Regions from separate parts of the Homo sapiens genome. Here regions 1 and 2 are each linked to region 3. Evidence: promoter capture Hi-C in 16 types of primary human blood cells and fetal thymus (Javierre and others, 2016). All regions are on one chromosome and are shown on one strand. The core of a region is centred on a gene start or on the middle of the fragment in contact, and the rest is flanking DNA. Distances in the headings are between cores, read along the strand shown. Region 1 overlaps GPBP1L1 (GC-rich promoter binding protein 1 like 1). Region 2 overlaps NASP (nuclear autoantigenic sperm protein). Region 3 holds the start of P3R3URF (PIK3R3 upstream open reading frame).

Region 1 (3,261 bases), core at 457-2,956, 530 kb before region 3:
CTATTTATACAGTATCTTTGATCTCTTTCTACTGTTTTAAAAAATACAGTTTTAAAACTTGTAAAATATAAACAGGAAAAATATAAAACAAATGAATAAGTTAATGGGTAAAAGTTCTTTTAAACACTACATGGTTTAAGCAACATAACATTACCAGACAAACCAGAAAGACATTACAAATCTCATTAGAAAAAAACCCCAAAACTACTCATACTTATGGTGATCACTGCATTTTTTTTTTTTACTAACCCATTGTGTCTCCCTTGACACTATAGTTTTGTCTCCAAAAACAATCTCAGCTTTTAATCTACTAGTTTTTAGAAAATCTTAAGCCTCTTTCTATAAATTGGTAGTTGGTTCTAGAGGTTACAGAATCCTTAGTGGTTTTGTATTCTTCCATTAGGAGACACACACAAATAACATGTGGTTGTGCTTCTTTTAGTGATGCTGGCAGACACTGGTGCTCATAGCCTAAAACTGTCAGCTCAATACAAGATGCAAAAACAATGATCTAATTTTACAATTCTTTATAAAGTAGTATACTTCCATAAATAGGAACTTCCCCTATTTGGCAATTCAACAGTACAGTTCATATAGAAAAAATATGATACATGCTTGTTCCTAAGGTGAGGTAGGTATCATTGTGAATTCACAGATTTAAATCCAATTTGATGTGATTCAACCCTCGTCGTTATTATTATTAATTGATGCATAAAACTGTCCCATGTTTGGCCTATGGAACCCTCTTCAATTTGGCTTCTAAATCCTTTTGCTACAACCCTAAGTAGTTCTTTACTTCTTTGTTATCTAGTTTGAAAAAATATTCCAAGCTCTTCTTTTAAGTATGCTGTCTGGATAAACTATTTCAAGATCACAATCCAGGCAGTAGAGCCACTCATTGCTATGGGGTTGTTCACTGTTTTTATGTCTTTTCAGTGGACAGAACCGCCTAGAAGTATGTATTTTTCACTCCAAAGCTAAAACACCTCATAACTTATTACTGATATTCCCAATTCAAACTGAGTACCCTTGTGGATTTTACGGAACATCTATTTTACGTTTTTATTTCCTCCTACAAGAATCCTGATTCTCAAGCATACAAAGTATAGAATATCATATTTAATTGCTTTATTCCATATTATGCACAAGTTTCAGAATAGCAATGTCAGTATTTCACCAGTGACCAAAATGTTTTGTTTTTTTTGGACATGTTCTCCCCATCTTCCCACTTTAAAAAAGTTATACTATGTCCAGATTGTGAGATCATATAACTATCACATGCTAACTCTCTTTTAACCCTCATTTCTTCTTAGCTCTACAATTAACCATACATTTAGTATTTACCACCATTCCTTTTGTAATCTTTCTGGTTAGTTTGTCAGAAGCTTGTTCTTCAGTAGTTCTCAGGAAAAGTCTTGGGAACGATATTCCGAAGTTTTTTGTTTTTTTTTTTTTTGAGGCATTTTATTTGTAAATATGTATTGCATCCCTAGAAACAAAATCCAAGGATTTTCCCTCCTGTGTGTTTTCGTCTTGCTTCTTCATGGTCCATGATACCAGCTAAGGCTGTCAATATGACGAAGTCAAATGGTTGGGATAGAAGCAGATTGTTCTGCCGTTTTTCTAGATCTTTGAGTTGCAAATCAAAGCTGGGGCTCTACACTTGTTTAGCCTGCCTGTGAGGTTCACAATTTTCCCAGCTCTGTTATCATCAATGATTTCAAATTTGCCAATGTAACGATGCTTCATCATCACAGCTAGAAGTTGGACAATGACTTTGGAGCATGGCCTAGTAAGAACCGGCGTTTCCCTCTCTTTTCGGCATTGGTGATACTCTTGAGAGCAACAGGTAGGATGTTCACACACACCATTGTGGCAGCGCGAAACAATGCCGGAAAGAGCAATATTCCAAGTACTTACACATTGATGTTTGTCTGTGATCTTTATAACTGAACATTAGCTTGACAAAGCACAAAATCTTTGGCTCACATTTTCTTTATTGTAATTGTTACTCCATTTACTTGTTATAAAGCTTTGCTGTCACAGTCTATCTGGTTTTCTTTCTCTTAACAACTCAGTCTTTATGCCTGAATGGCCAAAGGATATCTTTCTTTTTTTGTTCAAGTCTAGTATTTTGTAAGAGTATGTCTTAGTCATCCTGGCTATCCTTTCAATTTGTAGATTCAAATCTAAATGTATTTCAGAAAAATGTTCCTGAATTATACTTTTCAGTATTTTTTTTTTTTTTGAGACGGAGTCTCACTCTGTCCCCAGGCTGGAGTGCAGTGGCGCGATCTCAGCTCACTGCAAGCTCCACCTCCCGGGTTCACGCCATTCTCCTGCCTCACAGCCTCCCGAGTAGCTAGGACTACAGGCGCCCGCCACCATGCCTGGCTAATTTTTTGTATTTTTAGTAGAGACAGGGTTTCAACATGTTAGTCAGGATGGTCTCGATCTCCTGACCTCGTGATCTGCCCCCCTCGGCCTCCCAAACTGCTGGGATTACAGGTGTGAGCCACCGTACCCGGCCACTTGTCAGTATTTAAGCTATTCCTTTATTTTGGTTTTCTTTCTGGGGGCGGGGTGGGAAGATCCTATTATATATCTATATTAGATCTTTTCTGCCAAACTTTTTTTTCCCAGTTTTAATTTTTTACCTATGTATTTCTCCTTCATTTAAAAAATTTTCCTTCGCTGTCTAATTCTTGAAAAATATTATTTATTCTCTTTATTCTTCAGTATTTTTCTGAAATTTTTTATTATTACTTCTTTTCAAGAGTTCTAGCCCCTTATTTTGAGTTTTCCCAGATGATTTTTTTTTTTAAACCAACTTCTTAGGATTTTTTTTTTTTTTTTTCTGAGACCAAGTTTCATACTCTTGTTGCCCAGGCCGGAGTGCAATGGTGCGATCTTGGCTCACTGCAACCTCTGCCTCCCGGGTTTACGTTCTTTAATGTCCTGGTTATCTTCTCCCTACCGCTTTTATCTGAACCTTTCCTTTCGTCTCTACTAACTTGTCTCTCTGCAGCTCAATCTGGATTATATTTCCAACAGTTTGTCCTCAGTGACGGGCTTTGTTCTGGAAGGGTATAGTGGCCAGCTAGCATGAACAACGATAGAACCCTGTGCTGGTTACCGCTTCTTAGTCACAAAGTCATCCCTTCTGCCTGTTGAGCAAAAATGTGCCTGGACACTTTAAAACTTTTCCTTTGACAGCTGGCATGTTAACTTCTGCCAGCGGAGAACAATGGAGAGATTTTT
Region 2 (3,745 bases), core at 797-3,296, 560 kb before region 3:
GCCCCAGGCTTTTCATATGCTGCATTTTTTGGTGTTGTATATCAGATACTGTTCTGCTTGTAAAGACAATACAGTTTTCCATATTTTACAAAAGAAGAAATGGGAGAAAGGGGTTTAAGTAACTTGCCCTAGTCACACAGTAAGGAGAAGCCTGCTACCCAAACTTCTGGCTTGAGTACTCAACCACTTACTTTCTGTGCTTTATTTCCCTTTACGTGGCAGCACCATTCTGCAGAAAACTTCCAAGCAGTTTTTTTCACTTAAAAATTAAAACCCTGTTTACTGCCACCTCTTGACTCTTTGCCATGTGTTGGGCTGTACATTTGCTTCTAATAAAGATAATTGGTCTGTTCTTTTTCTCTTTGAATCGGGTCTTGCTCTTTTGCCAGGCTGGAGTACAGTGGCATCGCAGTCATGGCTCACGACAGCCTCAAACTCCTATGCTGAAGCCATCTTCCTCCCTCAGTCTCTCAGGCAGCTGAGACTATGGGTGTGTATCACCATGCCCAGCTGGGGTGCAGTGGTGCGGTCTCGCTCACTGCAACCTGCATCTCCCAGGTTCAAGCGATTCTCCTACGTCAGCCTCCTGAGTAGCTGGGACTAAAGGCACATGTCCCCAGGCCCGACTAATTTTTTTGTATTTTTACTAGAGATGGGATTTCACCATGCTGGCCAGGTTGGTCTCGAACTCCTGACCTCAGGTGATCCACTAGCCTCAGCCTCCCAGAGTGCTGGGATTACAGGTGTGAACCATTGCACCTGGCCCACCATACACCATTATCTTCTCATATCCACATTTCCAAGTGGGTCCGGGCTTAGTTCCCCAAAGTTAGACCAGATGGATGGTCTTATTAACTCTGCCCATCCTCTAGCAGAATATGCAGAAAAGCTGAAGTAGATTTACATATGTAGGATAATTGATAGAAAAGTAAATACTTCATCTTCCCAATTTGTAGGAAAAATTAAATTGATATTGTTATCTTCTATTCTTACCTGGTATCTCTTCCTACTCATACCAGAATACTAGAAGACAACCTCTAATTTGAAACAAAATATCTTAATTACTTGGAAGTTTTACATCAAATTTTTAAATTAAAATTCCTATAATTGCTTCAGAAGAATATTACTGGTTCCTCTTGAGGAATCTGTACCATCTTCAAGGAATGGTGGGGAGCTAGGTTAAGGAGAAAGCCATCGCCATTACTTTTTTTTTTTTTTTTTTTTTTTTTTTTGAGACAGAGTCTTGCTCTGTCACCCAGGCTGGAATGCAGTGGCGTGATCTAGGCTCACTGCAACCTCCGCCTCCTAGGTTCAAGTGATTGTTCTGCCTCCGCCTCCCGAGTAGCTGGGACTACAGGCATGTGCCACCACGCCTGGCTAATTTTTTGTATTTTTAGTAGAGACGGGGTTTCACCGTGTTAGCCAGGATGGTCCCAATCTCCTGACCTGGTGATCTGCCCACCTTGGCCTCCCAAAGTGCTAGGATTACAGGTGTGAGCCACCGCGCCTGGCAGCCATTGCCATTACTTTAAAACCTTTCCCAACTTGTGCCCAGGTATCAATGGCAATGCCCTGATGTCCTCAGTAAATTTGTTAAAGTATCTTTTTTTTTTTTTTTTTTTTTTGAGACGGAGTCTTGCTCTGTCACCCAGGCTGGAGTGCAGTGGTGCGATAATCCGCTCACTGCAAGCTCCACCTCCTGGGTTCACGCCATGCTCCTGCCTCAGCCTCCCAAGTAGCTGGGACTACATGCGCCTGCCACCACACCTGGCTAATTTTTTTGTTTTTTGGTTTTTTTTTTTAGTAGAGACGGGGTTTCACCATGTTCGCCAGGATGGTCTCAATCTCCTGACCTCGTGATCCGCCCGCCTCGGCCTCCCAAAGAGCTGGGATTACAGGCGTGAGTCACCGCGCCTGACCCTGTTAAAGTATTTTCTAAGCTTCTTTGAAAACGGAATCTCTTTGTGGTTGCTGCTGATAAAACTCCTTTGACCTGACGATTGCTCTAAGTCCTAATTGCCATATTTATATTCCCATAGTAAGAGTGTTTGGAGATAGTGTTTGAGCTTTTTTGCTGGTGTTAAAAATGCATAATGAAAGATGGCAGAGAGAGGCATATTATATCCAATTCATGAGTTGTTTGTGTTAACAGAAAGCTTATTTTAATCACTTAACATTGTTGATTTGTCTAATCACAGTAGCGCTATTGATTAGGAGCCTGACCTTTAGATGGTTGACTTGTGAGTGTATTCAATATGGTGAAATATGGTGTTGATATATGGCTGCAGATTTTAGAGGTGTCATTAGCAAAGGTATAGGAGTAAAATAGGGGTTATAGTATTCCTTACTCAAATTCTGTATGTGCTAGAGCTGGCTGGAGTCTGTGGCATGCTCATTGGTGTAAGTCGGTAAGGACTATGCTTTTTGCTCCACATCTCTGTTGTGGGAAAGCTAGTCTCTTGAGCATTCTTGATCAGAATGGACTGGAATAATTTAACTTTCGTACTTTCCCAGGCTATTAGTATTATCTAATGAGTGGCTTAAAGATACCAGAAACACTGACTGAGGTCTCCACCTGCTTCTGGCTGAATGAATGGGAGCTTCTAGCCATTGAATAAGAGGCAGTAGCCAATGTTTCTTATTCTGAATGGTCCAGGTTGACTTTTATAAGAGAAACACTCAGCCTTTTAATTGCTGAAGGTCTGACCCATAGACTAAGATTGCACATTCTTAGTCTAGGTTACACTTGAACTAGACTGCACCCACTGACGATATATTCAGTTCAGGTGTTAACTCACTTGGATTAGCATCTGGCCTGTCCTATCTGAATATAGGTTGAGACGTGTATTGGAATCTCTGACTAGTCAGAATACGTTCTTAGTTATATTCTCAATACTGAGGAATTTTTACTTGTAGAAACTGAAGGCTCAGAAGAGGATGATAAAGAAAATGATAAGACCGAAGAAATGCCAAATGATTCAGTCCTTGAAAACAAGGTATGTTGTTAGCCACTCAGTACTGTTGTCAGCCTTTTTCTGTTTTTGGGAGACTGGAGCTCACTCTTGTTGCCTAGGCTGGATTGCAGTGGGGTGATCATGATCATGGCTCACTGCAGCCTAGACCCGGGCTTAAGTGATCGCCTCACCTCAGCCTCTCAAGTAGCTGGGACTACAGGCTTGTGCCAACATGCCCAGCTAGTTTGCAGGACTGTAGCTTACCTAGTTTAGGCACGATTATTATTTTTTTAAGAGATAGAATCTCTGTCTCTGCCCAGGCCGGAGTGCACTGGCATGATCAGGGCTCACTGTATCTTTAGCCTCCTGGGTTCAAGGAATCCTTCTGCCTCATCTTCTCAGATAGCTAGGTCTCCAGATGTCTGCCACCATGTCTGGCTAATTTGTTCTCTAATTTTATTTTGTTTAGACGGCTGTCTTGCTGTGCTGCCCAGGCTGGTCTCAAACCTGGCTTCAAGTTATTCTCCTGCCTCAGCCTCCCAAAGTGTTGGGATTATAGGCATAACCCACCATGCCCAGCCCTAGGCATGATTATTATAGATAACTGTCTCTTGATTATGGATTAGGGACCCTTTATTCATGCCTAGGATGGGTGGATATATTTGATCCTGGGGTTCTTGTGTGTTAGTATGTGAGCCAACATTTCACTGTTAAAATATCAGTGACATGGTCATGACTTAAGACAGTATGTGGACCCATTCTCTAGATTTTAGGGAGAAAGTCCAAATTTT
Region 3 (3,457 bases), core at 230-2,729:
ACAGTCAGTCACAGAGGCACATTAAATCACAAAGGCACATTCAGCCACATCTACTGATACTCCTATTCTCCCGGCCTCAGACACACACACCAGCAGCTACACCTACACGCTGACCATCACAGGCACACAGAGGCACATCCACCTCACATCCACCTCATACTTGTGTACTCTCAGGGTTCAGTCTTTCATCCTATCCCTCTCTGATCTGTGCCTCCCAATACCTTCCAAGATGTTTACAGAGACCCTTCTCCCTGTGCAGTTAGGAGTGTAAGGCAAGAGAGCCCCTACTTCATGGGGCAGATCAAGAGCTGAGACCAAAGATGGTCTATGTTGCTGACCTTGTCCTGTCCTCCTGCTGTCTTAAACTATGATCCCTGCTGCGGTCACTGAAGCCTTTCCCTGTAAGTATTCAGCCATAACCCTCCCCTCACGCCCTGCATAGTCAGCTGGTTAACACCTCTGTGTGGAATAAGGCAGTTTGAGCAGAATGACTGTATTTGTTGTTCACCACCCACACGGCCCCTAGGAGATGCAGGTCCAGGGCAAACCAAGCTTCTGGGCTAGCTTCTGGGCACTTCTAGAGGATCAGAAAAATCCCAGGTTGCCTGAGATGTCTGAGAACTGAGGAGAGGAAGGAGAGGGAAGAGTTTGAGGAAGGAAGCAGTTCTGGAAGTTCCCTGCCTCTTGGATTCAGCCCCTCCCCAAACCCTCTGCTTCCAGCCAATCCATCCTCCATTAAGGCTGTCAGCACTTTGGGGTGCCTGCCATCAGGAGTCCCCCATATATGTAGGGGTGCTATTTCACAGAGATCATCCTTTGGCGTGCCTAAACAGAACCAGGTAGGGAAATCTTCACTGGCTCTGGTTTTTTTTTTTTTTTCTTGAGACAGAGTCTAGCTCTGTCACCCAGGCTGGAGTGCAGTGGCGCGATCTTGGCTCACTGCAACCTCTGCCTCCCGGGTTCAAGCAATTCTCCTGCCTCAGCCTCCCAAGTAGCTGGGACTAAAGGCGTGTGCCACCACGCCCGGCTAATTTTTTTTTGTATTTTTAGTAGAGATGGGATTTCACCGTGTTAGCCAGGATGGTCTCGATCTCCTGACCTTGTGATCTGCCCGCCTTGGCCTCCCAAAGTGCCGGGATTACAGGCATGAGCCACCGCACCCAGCCTAGTGGCTCTGTTTTTTAAAACCCCACCCTGGCTCACAGGCCCCCTGGCTAACCTTGAGGTGGGAAGATCCACACTATGGTGGTGTCAGTGTGGGTGTTGTTGATACCCATGGCCCTGGTGGCAGGATTGATGGCTGCACTGCTGGCAGTTCGACCTCGGAGACCCTGTTGATATCTTCTGCGGCTACACTTGAACATCCTGGGAAATCGGGGCCTGGGCCAGCCCATACCTGGCCTGCGGTAGGGGGAACGCATGCCCTGGGGCCGAGGGCCACGGACAAGCCGAGATGGCCCCATGGGCACAGGGAGCTTCTGCAGTGTGCCTGGGGGGTGCTGTTGGCCAGGGTAGCTGAGGCCTCTATGACATACAAAGTCTGCATAAGGGCAGGGCCCTTTATTACAAGTCGTGGGCCCTGGCCCCTCCTCATGGGTCAGGCTCCTTCACAATCTTCTTTATTGGGTCTGGCCTAAAAGCCAGCCCAAGAGCCAGACAGCCTCAGTTTGGCCCCTTGGGAAAAGAGGCCCTAGAGGCGGAACTCACTTCCTCACTTTCTCACTTATCCATATAGTAACAATATTAACAATGTTTTTTGAGCACTTACTACGTGCCAGACACTGTGCTGAGCACTTTACCAACGTTATCTCATTTAATCTCAGCTACTTTACAAGGATATGCCATCATTATACCTATTTATATACAGTCAATTCTCATTATTCCCAGTAATGTTCTATAAAGTCGCCACAAACACTAAATACTGAACAAAGGGTAAATGCAAGGTTAGGTTCCTGAAACCCTCTGGTCACAATATTTTTGTCAACTGATCTATACATATAACCTGATTTTATGTGTGGAGACACCTTATTTAATATATATTGTTGGCCAGGCATGGTGGCTCAAGCCTGTAATCCCAGCACTTTGGGAGGCCGAGGTGGGCAGATCACCTGAGGTCAGGAGTTCAAGACTAGCCTGGTTAACATGGCAAAACCCCATCTCTACTAAAAATACAAAAATTAGCTGGGTGTGGTGGTGGGTGCCTGTAGTCCCAGCTACTCAGGAGGCTGAGACAGGAGAATAGCTTGAACCCAGGAGGTGGAGATTGCAGTGAGCCCAGATTGCACCATTGCACTCCAGCCTGGGCAACAAGAGTGAAACTCTGTCTCAAAAAAAAAAAAAATATATCTATCTATCTATCTATCTATCTATCTAACTATCTATCTATATTTGAGTCATTGACATTGAACTCACAGCCAACAGCATTATAACTTGTGCCTGAATGAAACTTATCTAAAGCACATATTTCCCCTATAAGGCACATCACAGCCTTCTTGCACTTAGAAAGACTAGAGAGCACTTCAGCACTACAACTGGGGACCATTTTAGACAGTAAAATCACCAGCAAAAAACACCAAAAAATGTGAGAATATGCGTCACTAAATAGACCACCAAAAAGCACATTTGTTTACTCTATGAAAACTGAAATAAGAAGACAGAGAGTCCTCTTGCTCAACAGACCTCAGCTGGAAATACGTGTGTTGGACGGCTGAAATTTTTTGCCTTTCTGCTCATGTCCATGAATGACTGCAAAAGTACCACAAGTACTGGTTTGGGAATTACAAATAAATTTCAGTAAGCAGGCAAATTCACAGGTATGGAATCTGTGAATAAGGAGGATCCACTGTATAAGGAAACTGGGGCTCAGTGAGGTGAAGTCACACAATTAGAGGCAGGCAGGAAGCAAATCCATGATGATCAAGATCCAAAACCCAGAGCACTTAACTCTCATTATTCTGCACTCATTCACTCAGGAAATGTTCACTGACAACTTCTTATGTGCCAAGCACCAGGGCCATAGATGAATGTAATCTGGTCCCAATTCTTCCTGAGAATGAAACAGAAAGGTTCCAGGTGCGGTGGCTCACGCCTGTAATCCCAGCACTTTGGGAGCCCGAGGTGGGTGGATGACTTGAGGTCAGGAGCTCGAGAGCAGCCTGGTCAACATGGTGAAACCCTGTCTCTACTAAAAATACAAAAATTAGCTGGGTGTGGTGGTGTGCACCTATAATACCAGCTACTCAGGAGGCTGAGGCAGGAGAATCGCTTGAAACTGGGAGGCGGAGGTTGCAGTGAGCCAAGATTGCGCCACTGCATTCCAGCCTGGGCAACAGAGTGAGATTCTGTCAAAAAAAAAAAAAATAGACCTTCTCCTTCTCCTTCCACTCCTCAGTCCCTTCTTCCTTTCCCCCTTACTCTGCTCCTCAAATGCCCCCTTCCCAACTTCATCCTCCTTTCT

What was found. The method cuts DNA at HindIII sites, captures the fragments that hold promoters and counts their contacts. A CHiCAGO score of 5 or more calls a contact.
Region 1: a contact is called between a fragment that was not itself captured here and the fragment with the promoter of P3R3URF in region 3, in 3 of 17 cell types (endothelial precursors, M0 macrophages and erythroblasts). The highest score is 9.6, in endothelial precursors.
Region 2: a fragment that was not itself captured here is called in contact with the fragment with the promoter of P3R3URF in region 3 in 4 of 17 cell types (erythroblasts, M1 macrophages, fetal thymus and 1 more); the score reaches 9.1 in erythroblasts.

What each region holds. Positions count from the first base shown.
Region 1 is chr1:45,644,327-45,647,587 of GRCh38, forward strand. All of the region lies in intron 6 of GPBP1L1 (GC-rich promoter binding protein 1 like 1), which reads right to left. It also overlaps the pseudogene RPS15AP10. Among named protein-coding and RNA genes, the nearest start is that of CCDC17, 22 kb to the left of the region's middle. The HindIII fragment of the contact is 647 bases long and covers 1,384-2,030 here.
Region 2 is chr1:45,610,253-45,613,997 of GRCh38, forward strand. NASP (nuclear autoantigenic sperm protein) reads left to right here. Exons shown (of 15, transcript NM_002482.4): 7 at 2,917-2,996. Among named protein-coding and RNA genes, the nearest start is that of CCDC17, 12 kb to the right of the region's middle. The HindIII fragment of the contact is 216 bases long and covers 1,939-2,154 here.
Region 3 is chr1:46,175,009-46,178,465 of GRCh38, forward strand. P3R3URF (PIK3R3 upstream open reading frame) reads right to left here and starts at 1,480. Exons shown (of 2, transcript NM_001328655.2): 1 at 1,220-1,480; 2 at 478-621. The coding sequence starts at 1,463. The coding sequence ends at 578. P3R3URF-PIK3R3 (P3R3URF-PIK3R3 readthrough) reads right to left here and starts at 1,480. Exons shown (of 10, transcript NM_001303427.2): 1 at 1,220-1,480. The coding sequence starts at 1,463. TSPAN1 (tetraspanin 1) reads left to right here and starts at 79. Exons shown (of 9, transcript NM_005727.4): 1 at 79-401. The HindIII fragment of the contact is 5,416 bases long and covers 551-3,457 here.